Linked DNA regions of Homo sapiens: region 1 is linked to region 2. The links are contacts of gene promoters, found by promoter capture Hi-C in blood cells and fetal thymus (Javierre and others, 2016). All regions are on one chromosome and are shown on one strand. The core of a region is centred on a gene start or on the middle of the fragment in contact, and the rest is flanking DNA. Distances in the headings are between cores, read along the strand shown. Region 1 overlaps FLJ32255 (a long non-coding RNA gene). Region 2 holds the start of DAB2 (DAB adaptor protein 2).

Region 1 (5,986 bases), core at 1,193-3,692, 3.6 Mb before region 2:
TTCTAAAACAGCTGGGGAGAAAAATGGACTGCGAGGCTCCGGTGTTGGACGTGAAATTGGCAGTGAGACATCCGCCTCTAAGCCCAGGGAAAAGCTTAAATTGTGGTTCTCTGTCTCTAGCACCGTGATCTTTGAAATGCGTTATTGATTTTCTTCTTTCTTCTGGGAAATGCAATGCAGGTGAACTTGTAAGTGTTGAATCCTCCCTCTCCTCACTGTTCAATCAGACTGAGGCCTACTTCCTTTCTGATAAGAAATATGGAACTGCCATTGCTCAGTAGGAAAATGTCCTTTCTACAAGCATTCATATTTCAATAAAAATCTGCACTTTGTGAGTTGAGCCCCCTCAAAGAGACCTACAGACCCTGCCATGAGCATCTCCATCCACACTCATCATTTCCCATTTTCACCACTTCTGCTCCTGTGCAAACCAGTACTATCCTTTTCTGGGGGATCCTAGGCAGAAGCGATGGCAGGACAAAGGCAGAGAAGGCACTGCCAGGTAAGGAAATCTATTTTGCCCTTGCAATTCTGTCTCCCAAGGGATTTGCCTCAATATCTCCCTCCCACCATACCCCTTCTTCAGCTAGCCAAAACCTTCCCTGCTATTTGAGGCTCCTCCAATTGCCTCCTGGTCCTGTGGTTGCAAGAATAAAGGAAAAACTACACTGTTCTCACCCACATAGTTACAGACACTATGAAATAGAAGAGCAGTCTGGAGTCATTGCAAAGCAAAATACCTACCATCAGTTCTCTCTTCCTATTTCTTTTTTTTTTCTTTTGAGACAGAGTCTTGCTCTGTCACCAGGCTCGAGTGCAGTGGCGCGATCTCGGCTCAGTGCAACCTCTGCCTCCCGTGTTCAAGGATTCTCCTGCCTCAGCCTCCTGAGTAGCTGGGGCTACAGGAGCGTGCCACAACGCCCAGCTGATTTTTGTATTTTTAGTAGAGACGGGGTTTCACCATGTTGACCAGGATGGTCCCGATCTCTTTACCTCGTGATCTGCTCGCCTTGGCCTCCCAAAGTGCTGGGATTACAGGTGTGAGCCACCGTGCCCGGCCCTCTGTTCCCATTTCTACTCCAGCTTCCCATCTTAGTAAAAAAAATCTGTGAGCAACACCCTGTAGCGGGAAAAGGTAACCTGTCTTGATGGGAGTCCATAGGAGGCTGCAGGCTGCTTCCCTACAGAGACTGATATCAAGGTAGCTGCAGAATTTAGATTCTAATCCTAGTGTGATTGGAGGTGGGGTAGATTCCAGGGAGGTCAGAAAGTGATCAAATACAAAATTGTGCTCCTTTGGAGGAGGTCATAGGAACTTTGAATTATGACAATGGCTAGTAATTGGGTAGAATTGGAGCAGGCTGGTGATGGCAGTTTTGTGTGGGTGGTAGGACCTAGGAATCAAACTTGAGGGCAAATTGTGGAGCACATATGACAAACGATGTAGAGCCTTTCCTATTTCCCTTTCCAGTGTGTTATCCAAAACAATAAATAATAAAGAATTAAGAAAGACTAATATTTTTATCAATCTCATTAAGAAAAATTGCATCAAATCAAGATAACTATAATGATAAATATTGTTAGAATATTATTAACCAAATGAAAGTGACACAAAACAAAAACGGGGTGGATGGTGGGAGAGATCAAATAAAAGCAGTCTCCAACACTCAGGCAATTTGCACAGGTGAATCTTCTGGCCAGTTGTTATGTTGCAGGAAGCTGTGCAACTAATGAATGAGGAGGCAGGAATCCATATTAATACTTTCCTGATACAGAGAAATTCTTGGATTTAACAATCTGCTTCTTTGTCAGATACTGACTTTTGATTATAGGCTCAGAAAAGATGATAACAGTTATAATCACTTAGTCTAGTAGAGTAGGTAAAAGAAAGACTGTGTAGGAGGCTAGACAGAAAGCAAAAGGTAAAAGTGCCCCGGGGTAAGTCATCTAGAGTTGAAAGTGAAGAACTGTGCTTGGTACCAATGGAGGACTCCACCAGGTCAGGTTAACCTACAAAAAATGAACCATTGGCTGTTGATCTCTGGGACTGAAGATTCACCCTATCCCATTCCTGTCTAGCCTCAGCTTTACATTCACTGTGTAGCTCAAAGGTTTTTGTTTGTTTTTTTTTTTTTTTTTGTAAAACACTCTCCACAAATGTTTGATAGATTATAAAACCCTGTCCTAAGACTTTGTCATCCACAGACAATTGTCTTATTTTCAGTCCTCTTCAAAAGGTCGTTTATAATTAGCTATTGGATTTTGATAGGTGTTTTTGAATGCAGGTTTCTAATTACTCTGGAGATTGTGACATTAGAATAAAGAAAAATGTGACATGAGTCTGCTTGGGAACATTTTTTTTTTTTTAAAGTGGAATAGAGGAGTAAACTTTTAGGACTCTCATGGAGAGCTGAAGTATTCGTGAATATCAAACAGGAGTTAATTGCATGGACCGAACAAATAGAAGACTGAAATGATATTGTTGACTTTTTTGCTAAAAAATTGCTGATCCTTAAAAAATTGCTGATCCTTTTTTATGTTTTCCTGAGTCAAGGAAACTTTACTTTTGAGCTATTGACAGCTTTTAACAATTCAGTAAAGTATACTCCAGTGAACAAAATTTGGAGCATATTTCTTTCTCTTTACCTGATTTCTCCAGAATTTGGAAACTATTTGTGAATATTCTTAACTTATGTCAATGTAGTTATTTGCATAAGTGCAATAAGAATGTTTTCTTTTGCAACAGAACACCATTGGAGAAACTGGTTATTTTACCAAGGCTTTGACTGAAATGGTGTGCTTTTCTTTAAGGAGTCAAACTTGAGTTACAGAGCCAATAAAAGCTCCTTGGGAAAACAGGCCCCAAACCTTGTCTACACAGACCCTATACAGGGTTTCTGATTTGTGGTAAGTAAAGAATGTCACTTTTTGACAAGCCCAGGAGCCCCAAGTGATCTTGGGACCTCTAGAGGAGGGGAATTTACCCAACTCATATGTATTCGATGGTACAAAGCCATGGCCGGGCTCGGCTTTTAAAAAGTCTTATCTGAGACTTTTTCTATGGAATAGAGTTCCATCAAAGTCATTTAAAAAGGCTTGTGTGAAAAATAATTGTTCTTGCGGCACTTTATACAAATAATCAGACCAAGTATAATAAAGCGAATAGGTCCTACCATGATTTCTCTTTAGTAAAAATGGGAAACTGGAGAGAGAAAAATTATGTTTCAACAACTATAGTATACATGCTGTTAGATTCTAGTCTTGCCTAATGTTATTTAATTTTTATTATTTTCTACAGTTTGGACTGAATTCCAAAATTTTTTTCTGGCTAAAAGTCTCCAAAATGATGTTTTCAATTATTTTCTTCTTTCTTTTCCTTTCCCTTACCCATTTTTTCCTAATTTTAAATCACTGAAAACTAAACTGTGCTTTCTTAAAGCCCTGCAAAATGAAGCTAGACAACTTAAACTTCAGAAGTAAATAAGAACAACCTATGTACATACATAAACCACTCTCATACCTGCCTGCTGATGTATGGACTTCAAAGTATTATGGCCCATATTGATTTTCCAGAATTATCTTTTTTGGTTTGTTTGTCGCTGTTTTTCTCCTTTCCTACCCATATTTTCTCTTCATAGGATGTGAGACTTCACAACCTGCTAAAAATGAGCCCTCCTAATAATGTGTGTCCTACCCAACTGGGAATAAACCATCGTAGCCATGAGAGATCAGATGGCTCTTCTCCTCCAAATATCATGTTAGAGGAGACTCACTTTCTTGTAAAATGCTTTATCTGAAAGAATTTAAAAAGAAACGGGAGGAAATGTGAAAGGAAAATAAATCCAGGGACCCCCAAATCACTAAGCCAAAAGGAAAAGTTAAGCTGGGAGCTTTAGGGCAAACCTGCCTTCCATTCTATTCCTAAAGAATATAGCTGCTAAGTTGAAAAAGTTACATACCGGCCAGGCAAAGTGGCTCACGCCTATAATCCCAGCACTTTGGGAGGCTGATGTGGGCGGATCACCTGAGGTCGGGAGTTTGAGACCAGCCTGACCAACATAGAGAAACCCCGTCTCTACCAAAAATACAAAATTAGCCGGGTGTGATGGCACATGCCTGTAATCCCCGCTACTCGGGAGGCTGAGGCAGGAGAATTGCTTGAATTTGGGAGGTGGAGGTTGTGGTGAGCTGAGGTCCTGCCATTGCACACCAGTCTGGGCAACAGGAGCAAAACTTGCTCTCAAAGGAAAAAAAAAAGCCACATACCTCCCTCACCCTCACAAGGAATTTCTTTGTGGACAAAGCACAGACAGAACTCGAAGTCATCCCTCTGCTCACTGAGATAAATGCATAACTGATTGCCTCCTTTAGAAAGGCTAATCAGAAACTCAAAAGAATGCATCTGTTTGTTTTTTACCAATCTATGACCTGGGAGCCCCCTCTCCACTTTGAGTTTTTCCGCCTTTCCGGACGGAGCCAATGTACATCTTATGTATATTGATTGATGTCTCATATCTCCCCAAAGTATATAAAACCAAGTTGTGCCATGACCACCTTGGTCATATGTGGTCAGGACCTCCCTGAGGCTGTGTTATGGGTGCGTGCCCTTAACTTTGGCAAAATAAATTTCCTAAATTGACTGAGACCTGTCTCAGATATTTGATGTTCACACTATAATGGATAACTGAGACTGATTAAATTATAAAGAAAGGATTTTTATTTTGGCTCACAGTTTTGTGCTGTACAAGCATGACACTAGCGTTTTCTGTTGAGGGTGTCAGGAAGCTTCCACTTATTGTGGAAGACAAAGGAAAAACATGTGTATCACATGGTGAAAGAAGGAGCAAGAGAGAGAGGGAGAGGTACCGGGCCTCCTTTTAAACAACTTGATCTCCTGTAAACTCATTATGGCGGGGAGGGCACCAAGCCGTTCATGAGGGATCTGCCCCCATGACCCAAACACCTCCTACCAGACCCCATCTGTAGATTGAGGATTACATTTCAACATGATATTTGGAGGAGAAACGTCATCTAAACTTTATCAGAGAGAAATGAATGTAAACTCCGCAGGTAGCATGTATTAGGCTATTATTGCATGCTATAAAGAAATACCTGAGACTGGGCATTTTGTAAAAAACAAAACAAAACAAAAGAAGGTTTAATTGACTTATGGTTCTGTAGGCTGTACAAGGAAGCATCGTGGCGTCTGCTTCTGGGGAGACTTCAGGAAGCTTCCAGTCATGTTGTAAGGCAAAGGAGGAGCAGGAACATCACATGTCAGAGTGGAAGCAAGAGAGAGAGAGAGTGGTGGAGAGTTGTCACACACTTTTAAACGATGAGATGGTGCAAAAGCTTACTATTGCAAAAACAGCATCAAGCCATGGAGGAATCCACTCCCATGACCCTGTATCTCCCACCAAGTCCCACCTTTAACATTGGGGATTATAAGTCAACATGAGATCTGAGCAGGGACAAACATCCATACTATATCCCAGCACACTCAGCATTAATCATTAGGTCAACTTGTCCCTGACCTGCTTCCTTATAGTTGTTTACTGCCTATTTTCTCAGAAGTATGTAGACTCTGCTACAAGATCATAGTTCACCTCAACTACTTTATAGATAACAACTTAAATATTAAGGAAACATTAAGTTTTCCCTTTGAAATATTGTTTCAGGTCCTGCATGCCAGTAAAACTACTCATGTCAGCTGTTCTGCAGGATCCCATGAGAAGGTGAGTCACCAGAAAATGCAGTTTCCACATCCTGATGATTTCATCTCCCTACCCCAACTGATCAATTTCTCCAATTTTCCAGCCTCTCACCCTCCACAATCCCCTTAAAAACTGTAGCCCAGAACTCTCTGGAATGATGAATTTGAAGGTTTGCTCCTGTCTCCTCACTCAGAAGCCTGTAATCATTAAACTCTTTCTCTGATGCAAACTCTGCTGTCTCAGTGTAATTGGTATGTAAGTGTGCAGCAGGC
Region 2 (6,480 bases), core at 2,809-5,308:
AAATAGGTGTTGCTTTTTATATTACTAAAATAGAAACATCTTTTCCATGCTTTTCTGTACCTTGCTTTTCTCACTCAAAAAAACCTAAAGGAATATTCCCATGTCACAAAATTTGACTCTAATTTATTCCTTTGAATGGTTACATATGACTTCACAGTATGGATAAGTCATAACATACTCAGTCATTCTCCATTGACAGGCATATTTTGTCCTAGCTTCCTGCTGCTATAAATGATACAATTAACAACCTTGGGGGCAGGGAGTGGTGGCTCATGCCTGTAATCCCGGCAATTTGGGAGGCCGAGGCGGGTGGATCATGAGACCAGCCTGGCTAAGATGGTGAAACCCCGTCTCTACTAAAAATACAAATACAAAAATTAACTGGGCATGGTGGTGGGCACCTGTAATCCCAGCTACTCGGGAGGCTGAGGCAGAGAATTGCTTGAACCCGGGAGGCGGAGGTTGCACTGAGCCGAGATCTTGCCACTGCACTCTAGCCTGGGCCACAGAGCAAGACTCCATCTCAGAAAAATAAAAAAAAAAAAATCCTTGCATATTATACATGTGCTTTATTTCTAGTGGATAGATTCTTACTCCTAGGATAGAGAAGTGTATGTGTTTGCTACAATAACAATTAATATTAGTAATTCCTGCAGGGTTTTATGTATTTTCATTTTTGATAACTCCTGCTAGGTTTCTTTCCAAGTAAGACAGTATTTATTTGAATGGTAATTTTTATGGGTATTTACTTGCCTTTCACAATTTCTCATTATAAAAATTTATATTGATAAGTGAGGTGTAATTAGTTATATACATTTATATTATTGAATTTTAAATGTTCTTCATTTTACAAGTACCAATTTTTCCAAGTACCCTAGTAGTCTACCACCTGAGTTTCATTAAAATTGCACAAAACAGAAAAATACATATTAGTTCTGAGATGCTATAGGGGTATAAGCAAGAAAACAAAACACAAACAGGCTGCCTTCTATGAAACTATCTTCCAAATATTTTAGATCAGAAGATGGACAGGTAGATGGATAGACAGAGATATGAAAAAAAACCTCCAGTATTTGTTTTGACTTGCCAGCCACCAAATCTGGTAGGGTCAGTTTTTCTGTAATGTTAAATATGCAGGACTGGTCAAGGTCAAAGAACATTTTCTGGGAACAATAGCCATTCTCTTCATTGTTTTTTTAATGACATGGAGAAGGAAAAAAAAAAAAGGAGAGAGAGAGAGATGTGACCTTACTAGGTCCACTTCAACAAATCCTTGTTTGATTTTAACATCTCTAAGTGTCCAGCAAGGCATCAAAGGCACACAGGCAGTTTACCTTACAGCCAGTTCCAAAGTGCCATTTACAATTCAGGAGAAATGACAGGCTTCAAAAGGGGCAGTTTAAGGAAGACAAGAGCAGTAGAGAGGGGGATAGAAGAAGTGATGGAGAAGGAGGAGAGAAAGGATAAAGGATTAGGTCTGTGAGCTAACAGAGGAAAACAGCTTAATTATGGAAGAAAAGACACATGCATAGGATAGGTCGAACAGGCAGAGTTGCTGTGGAAGCACATTCCAGGAAAATCTTAAGAGATTACTTTAATAATAAACCATGCATTCTTCAGCAAGCCATCACGGGATTAACTACCCCTTTCCTAGGCTGGGAGCACAGTCATTTGTTTTATTTTATTTTTTCCTTCTCTCTCACAGGCAGGTTTTCTGCAACGGACAATTGCCATTCAAAGACTATTGTTTTTCAAACATTGAACTGACTTTTCCTCCCCTTAATTTTCTAAACATAAATTTCAGTGGTGATAAGAAAAGACCATTATTTAGGCAGGGTAAATATCTGGGTGGGCTTTGGCGTGATTCTCCAGAGGGAAAGATGTTCATTTTAGACTTGTTGAAAAGTGAACAACTTAGATGAGACAGAGACAATGTTTCACGAGGGATAAAAAGAGTTAAATTTCTTTTCTTTTTTTTTCTTAATGTGAGCAGGACATTGAATTACTGCCAGAAGCAATATCGGTGCCCTAGAGATATAAAAATACAGTTCAAACCAGAATTCTCCACTGTCGACTCTTCAGATTTCTGTGCAAAATAAGAGGTGTCTATTTTAAGTTGTAAGTGTGAGCCCACTGCTCTTAAATGAACTGTTTTCATCAAAGTCTTCTCTTGAAACTACAACTCATAGCAGATGAAATCATTTTCTTCCTCTGGCTTCTTAGACAAATCCCTTCCATTTGGTGGGGTAGAGCAAACATAAGTTAGTATTTCTTGGTAAGAGTCTTTCAAAAAAAAAAAAAATAGAATTGAGTGAGCACTTCTTAGTCTAGAAAATATTACATATTGAGGTTAAAAGAGACACCCATGTCTTTCTAATTATCAAAGTCTCTATTTGCCTGAAGTCAGCAGCCCTTTTTCCAGCTACCTAGCCAATAGAAATGAAACTGGACTTCTAGATTTTAGAAACAAAGCCTTGTGTTCTAAAATGTACTAGAATTACATTTCTCTGCATAAATGTTATAAATAGAATACTATCCTAGGACTAAAATTTGTATACTTCCTGTCATTCACACAAAGTCATTTTTTAAAATAGCAAATTACCTCTGAGGAATATTGAAAACTGCCAGCATGGCCCTCCCTGCCTCCACACCCCTAGGTGTGTCAGGGGATGAGAAATAGTAGAGGCTGGGGAAGTAGAATTCTGGGCCAGCTGTGCTGCTCTGCACCCCTCAGTCTCCCCGAACAACGGTTGTTTCAAGCCTGACCTACTTGAGAGCAGACATTGCCACTCACATTGAGCTACCCCAAATTACACAGTGGCTTTGCAGTCGAGGCTAGGCACGGACCACAAAATATATCCTTGATGTCCCACGAGCCCTATTTGAACCCTCAGTTTCCAGAGGTAAAATGCAAATCCACTGTGTTGCTTACTCGATAAAATCAATAACCCCCTCCCATCCGAGATACAATTTAGCATTTTCACATTTACTACGTGCTGCCTCTGACTTTAAACAATTAAATTTTTTTCTTAAAAAAAGGGAAAAGAGACACGTCTTTCACAAGAGTAATTTCAGAATTCTCCAAAAAGCAACAGAGCTTCTGTGGATGTTTTACAATAATTCTTGATTTTAAAATATGGAGAAAATGAATTCTCAGCTTGTTAACACTCATTAGGATTTGCTGCGGAGTACCTTCTACCGCTCAGCACTCTACGTTAACATTTTTAAATATTTTATTTCTTGCAGTTCATGTTTTTCCTAGAGTTATAGGAAGTGCTATGGAAATTCATGCAGATAAAGTCATGTTATGTGTCTACATATAGGTGTATATACACTGTAAGGGAAGCCTGTATAGAATCTCTGATTGTATCAGAATTATAACTTATTTGATAGGCTACATAGACGTGAACATGTTTTGCTCATATCGATTTCAGAGAGAATATTATTTTTATATCCATATATATGATTATATTTCATAGGTAAATACAGTATGTTTCACATATGCACACATAGATTTCCCACTAACTTAAGCGCATTTGCATCTGCAATGAGGGAGACACTAATTTCTTCTAAGGGGAGCAAATCCAATCGCGCGATCAACTTTAGAAACTGCAGATCTGCGCAGGAACCGTTGTCCCTTGTCAGAAAAGTCAGGAGTAAAGGCAGTCCTTTGTTCAAAGGGCCCCAACGGGTTGGTTAGGATGACTCCGTGTGCCACATCACTCGCAGTGGCAATCCAGGGAACGGATCTGTGAAACGAAGCTCGGTGGATCCCACCCCTTTCCTCCAGAGCTTCCCTTTCCTGTCCTTATTTGCACCCGCCCCCCGCCCGCGTCGGTCTGGGGCTTTTGACTTCTCCCCGAACACATTTCCCCTCCCGTCGCTGGGTCCCTGCGATCGCCCCCAGCTGGTGGGGCTCGCGGAGCTCAGGGGAGCGGGGTCCTCTGCGCCGCTGCAGCGCGAGTTAATAAACAGTTAAGTTTGGAAGACTCTGCAGACACGTTGAGGGGGAGTTACCAAGCCCAGGCAGCAAAAACATCCTGGCACATTCCTGGGGAGTCCTCAGCTGCCAGCATCTGATTAGAACCATATCTCTCGCCGGGAGTGGCCGCGCGGCTCCGAAGCTCCCGGCCGGCGGCTATTTAAGCGAGGCCCGCCGCATCCGCTGCGCTGTAGCCTGGAGGCTCCGGGCGCGGGGAAGTCATGCTCGCTTCACGGAGGCAATAGCTAGCCGGTGAGTAGCTTCGAAACCCTTCTTCCCTCTGGCTCCATTTTTTTTTTAAAGATCTCCTTCTCTCCTTTGCTCCCCCTCTCTCACCCCCCCGCCCCCCGCTACCCTTCTTTGAGTACAGACCTTGGGCTGTGGGGAATCTTAGAAATGAGACCCTGTGCTTGGGGAAACCAGCAGTTTTGTGGCCTGACATCTGAGGAATGCTTCCGCGGAATGTATTTACCTTTCGAATCCGACTCCAGATGCCCAGCTTGTGACATTTAACAAACGCCTCCTTTTGTGTCGTGTGTGTGTGTGTGTGTGTGTGTGTGTGTGTGTGTGTGTGTGTGTGTGTGTAAAAGGTCTGCGGGCAGCCCTCCTAGGACACTGAGGTGGCTGCTGACCGCCTAATTAACTCCTCGAAGGGTGTTTATTTTTGCTGTGTGACAAAGGCTGGGGACCTGGCTTGTGCCCATAAGGAGCTTTTTCCTGGTGACTGACAACATATGGCATTAAAATGTGAACTTTTGTCTTACACCGGCATTCCTAAGGAAGTATCTACCCAAGGGACTTAAGAAACTTGTTTTATATCCCCCGGCGCAGGGAGCATGGTTTATATGGTGCTTGCCTGCCTGTTGTAAGCTGGTTAAAAAGATTAAGTAAGAATTCTAAAAAAGGGGGGAAAAATGAATGGGTTAAAACCGTGGAGCCTCAGTCAACATAGCGGTTTTCATAGCATAGAGCTGACTCTGTTATTTGTTTCTGCTGTCTTTCCCTCTTGACTTAATTCTGAGCCTGGAATTCTGGTCCGCAGACAGTTTCAGCAGGGAGCTGAGTCCAAAGGGAAATTCAACTGGATTAAAAACACTTAAGGAATCTGGGTGTTATCTCCACCCCAACCACCCCCCACCTTTTCCCCTTTCTTTTTAGTTTTTGTTTGGAAGGAAGAGAGCCGCTCTGTAAACCGAGAAGAGCAGAAACAAGCTTCCAGACACATGGAAAGACTTAAAAATTATGGAGGGGCGACTTCACGAATAGTAAATGTTGCTATTGCTCTATAAAGTGACTTCATGAAAAAATTTCTGGCCTTAGTCAGGCAAAGCAGGGGCATGGGGGAGAAGGAGGTAAGATATAACTAATGCAAACAGAAGTAATGGGAGTGGAAAGCAGGCATCTACAAAAAATGCCTTTGAGATGTCTGATAAGCCTCTTGGAATGGCTTTGATGAGATGTATACTTGATTGTCCTTACAGTCTTGAGGTTGGCTTCTCACACAAAAGCACCTACTGGCTGTTGGGGAGGAGGGAGCTTGCAGCTACCAAATGGCTTGTCACCATGCTTCTTACCCCAGCAGCCAGACTTTGGGAGGCTACTTTTCTCTGAGCCAGGTGCCCCGCCCACTCCAGGTTCTGTGTCTCCCCTCTTGGAAGGGAGATGGCCCTCAGTGACACTGTAAGAAAGTTTATTGCCTTGAGAATTCGGGAGTATTTGAGTACAATGGGAAAGTCTTCTAGAGAAAGCATGAAGAAGACCTAGTGGTCTTTGCCAATGTGGATTTCTGGGACAGACCACTTCTTCCAAATCCTTAGTCAGTTTCCTCCTAAGGCCAACTAAATTCTTTTTCCTGTTGTTGGTGAATAACTTCCCCCTTCTTTTCCCACTCCCAGCTGGAAGGATCCCTTCTCATCCAAATGACTGACCTAGAAACCAGTCATTTTTCAGCTATGCCCTCCTATGCTTTAATGTATAACCAGAATAAGTAGATGGTAGAGGAATGTCTTCCAACTTTGAGCCCATACACGTATGTATTTGCCATTCTGGGGATCTTTGATCTTGATGGTTGATCTTTACCTGAGGATGTAAGTGAGGGAAGAAAGCACTTGTTACAAACCTTGTCTAATTTGTGAAGGGCAAACTCCAGAGTTTGTGTTTCTGCTAAAGACTTTTATAGTTTCAGATTAAACTGGAAGTCCAAATTCCTGTGCATTAGGCCTGTTTGTTGTCTTTCTCCAAAGGTTGAATGGATTTCACTGGCCTTGTTTGGGTTGAAGGGTACGGCTTTTAAGGCACTTGTTGGCATGAAGGTAGTACAGGGACCTCTGGCAGCTGCTGACCAGCTGTTTGGGGATGATATTTACTGGCCTGCTCAACCAGGCCTCGATTATCTGAAGGTTAAGGGAGCAGGAAGATATCTTCCTTGCTGAGTGCTCCTGGCCAAGCAGGAGGCTTTGCTGTGACATAGGCTCTTATGCTGCTTCATTTCTAACTCT

Evidence for each region. The method cuts DNA at HindIII sites, captures the fragments that hold promoters and counts their contacts. A CHiCAGO score of 5 or more calls a contact.
Region 1: a contact is called between a fragment that was not itself captured here and the fragment with the promoter of DAB2 in region 2, in 1 of 17 cell types (M0 macrophages). The highest score is 6.7, in M0 macrophages.

What each region holds. Positions count from the first base shown.
Region 1 is chr5:42,985,355-42,991,340 of GRCh38, reverse strand. FLJ32255 (a long non-coding RNA gene) reads left to right here. Exons shown (of 2, transcript NR_104643.1): 1 at 1-502; 2 at 5,679-5,943. Among named protein-coding and RNA genes, the nearest start is that of FLJ32255, 5.0 kb to the left of the region's middle. The HindIII fragment of the contact is 4,691 bases long and covers 97-4,787 here.
Region 2 is chr5:39,422,558-39,429,037 of GRCh38, reverse strand. It overlaps DAB2 (DAB adaptor protein 2), which reads left to right and starts at 4,058. Exons shown (of 15, transcript NM_001343.4): 1 at 4,058-4,234. The HindIII fragment of the contact is 7,828 bases long and covers 1-5,196 here.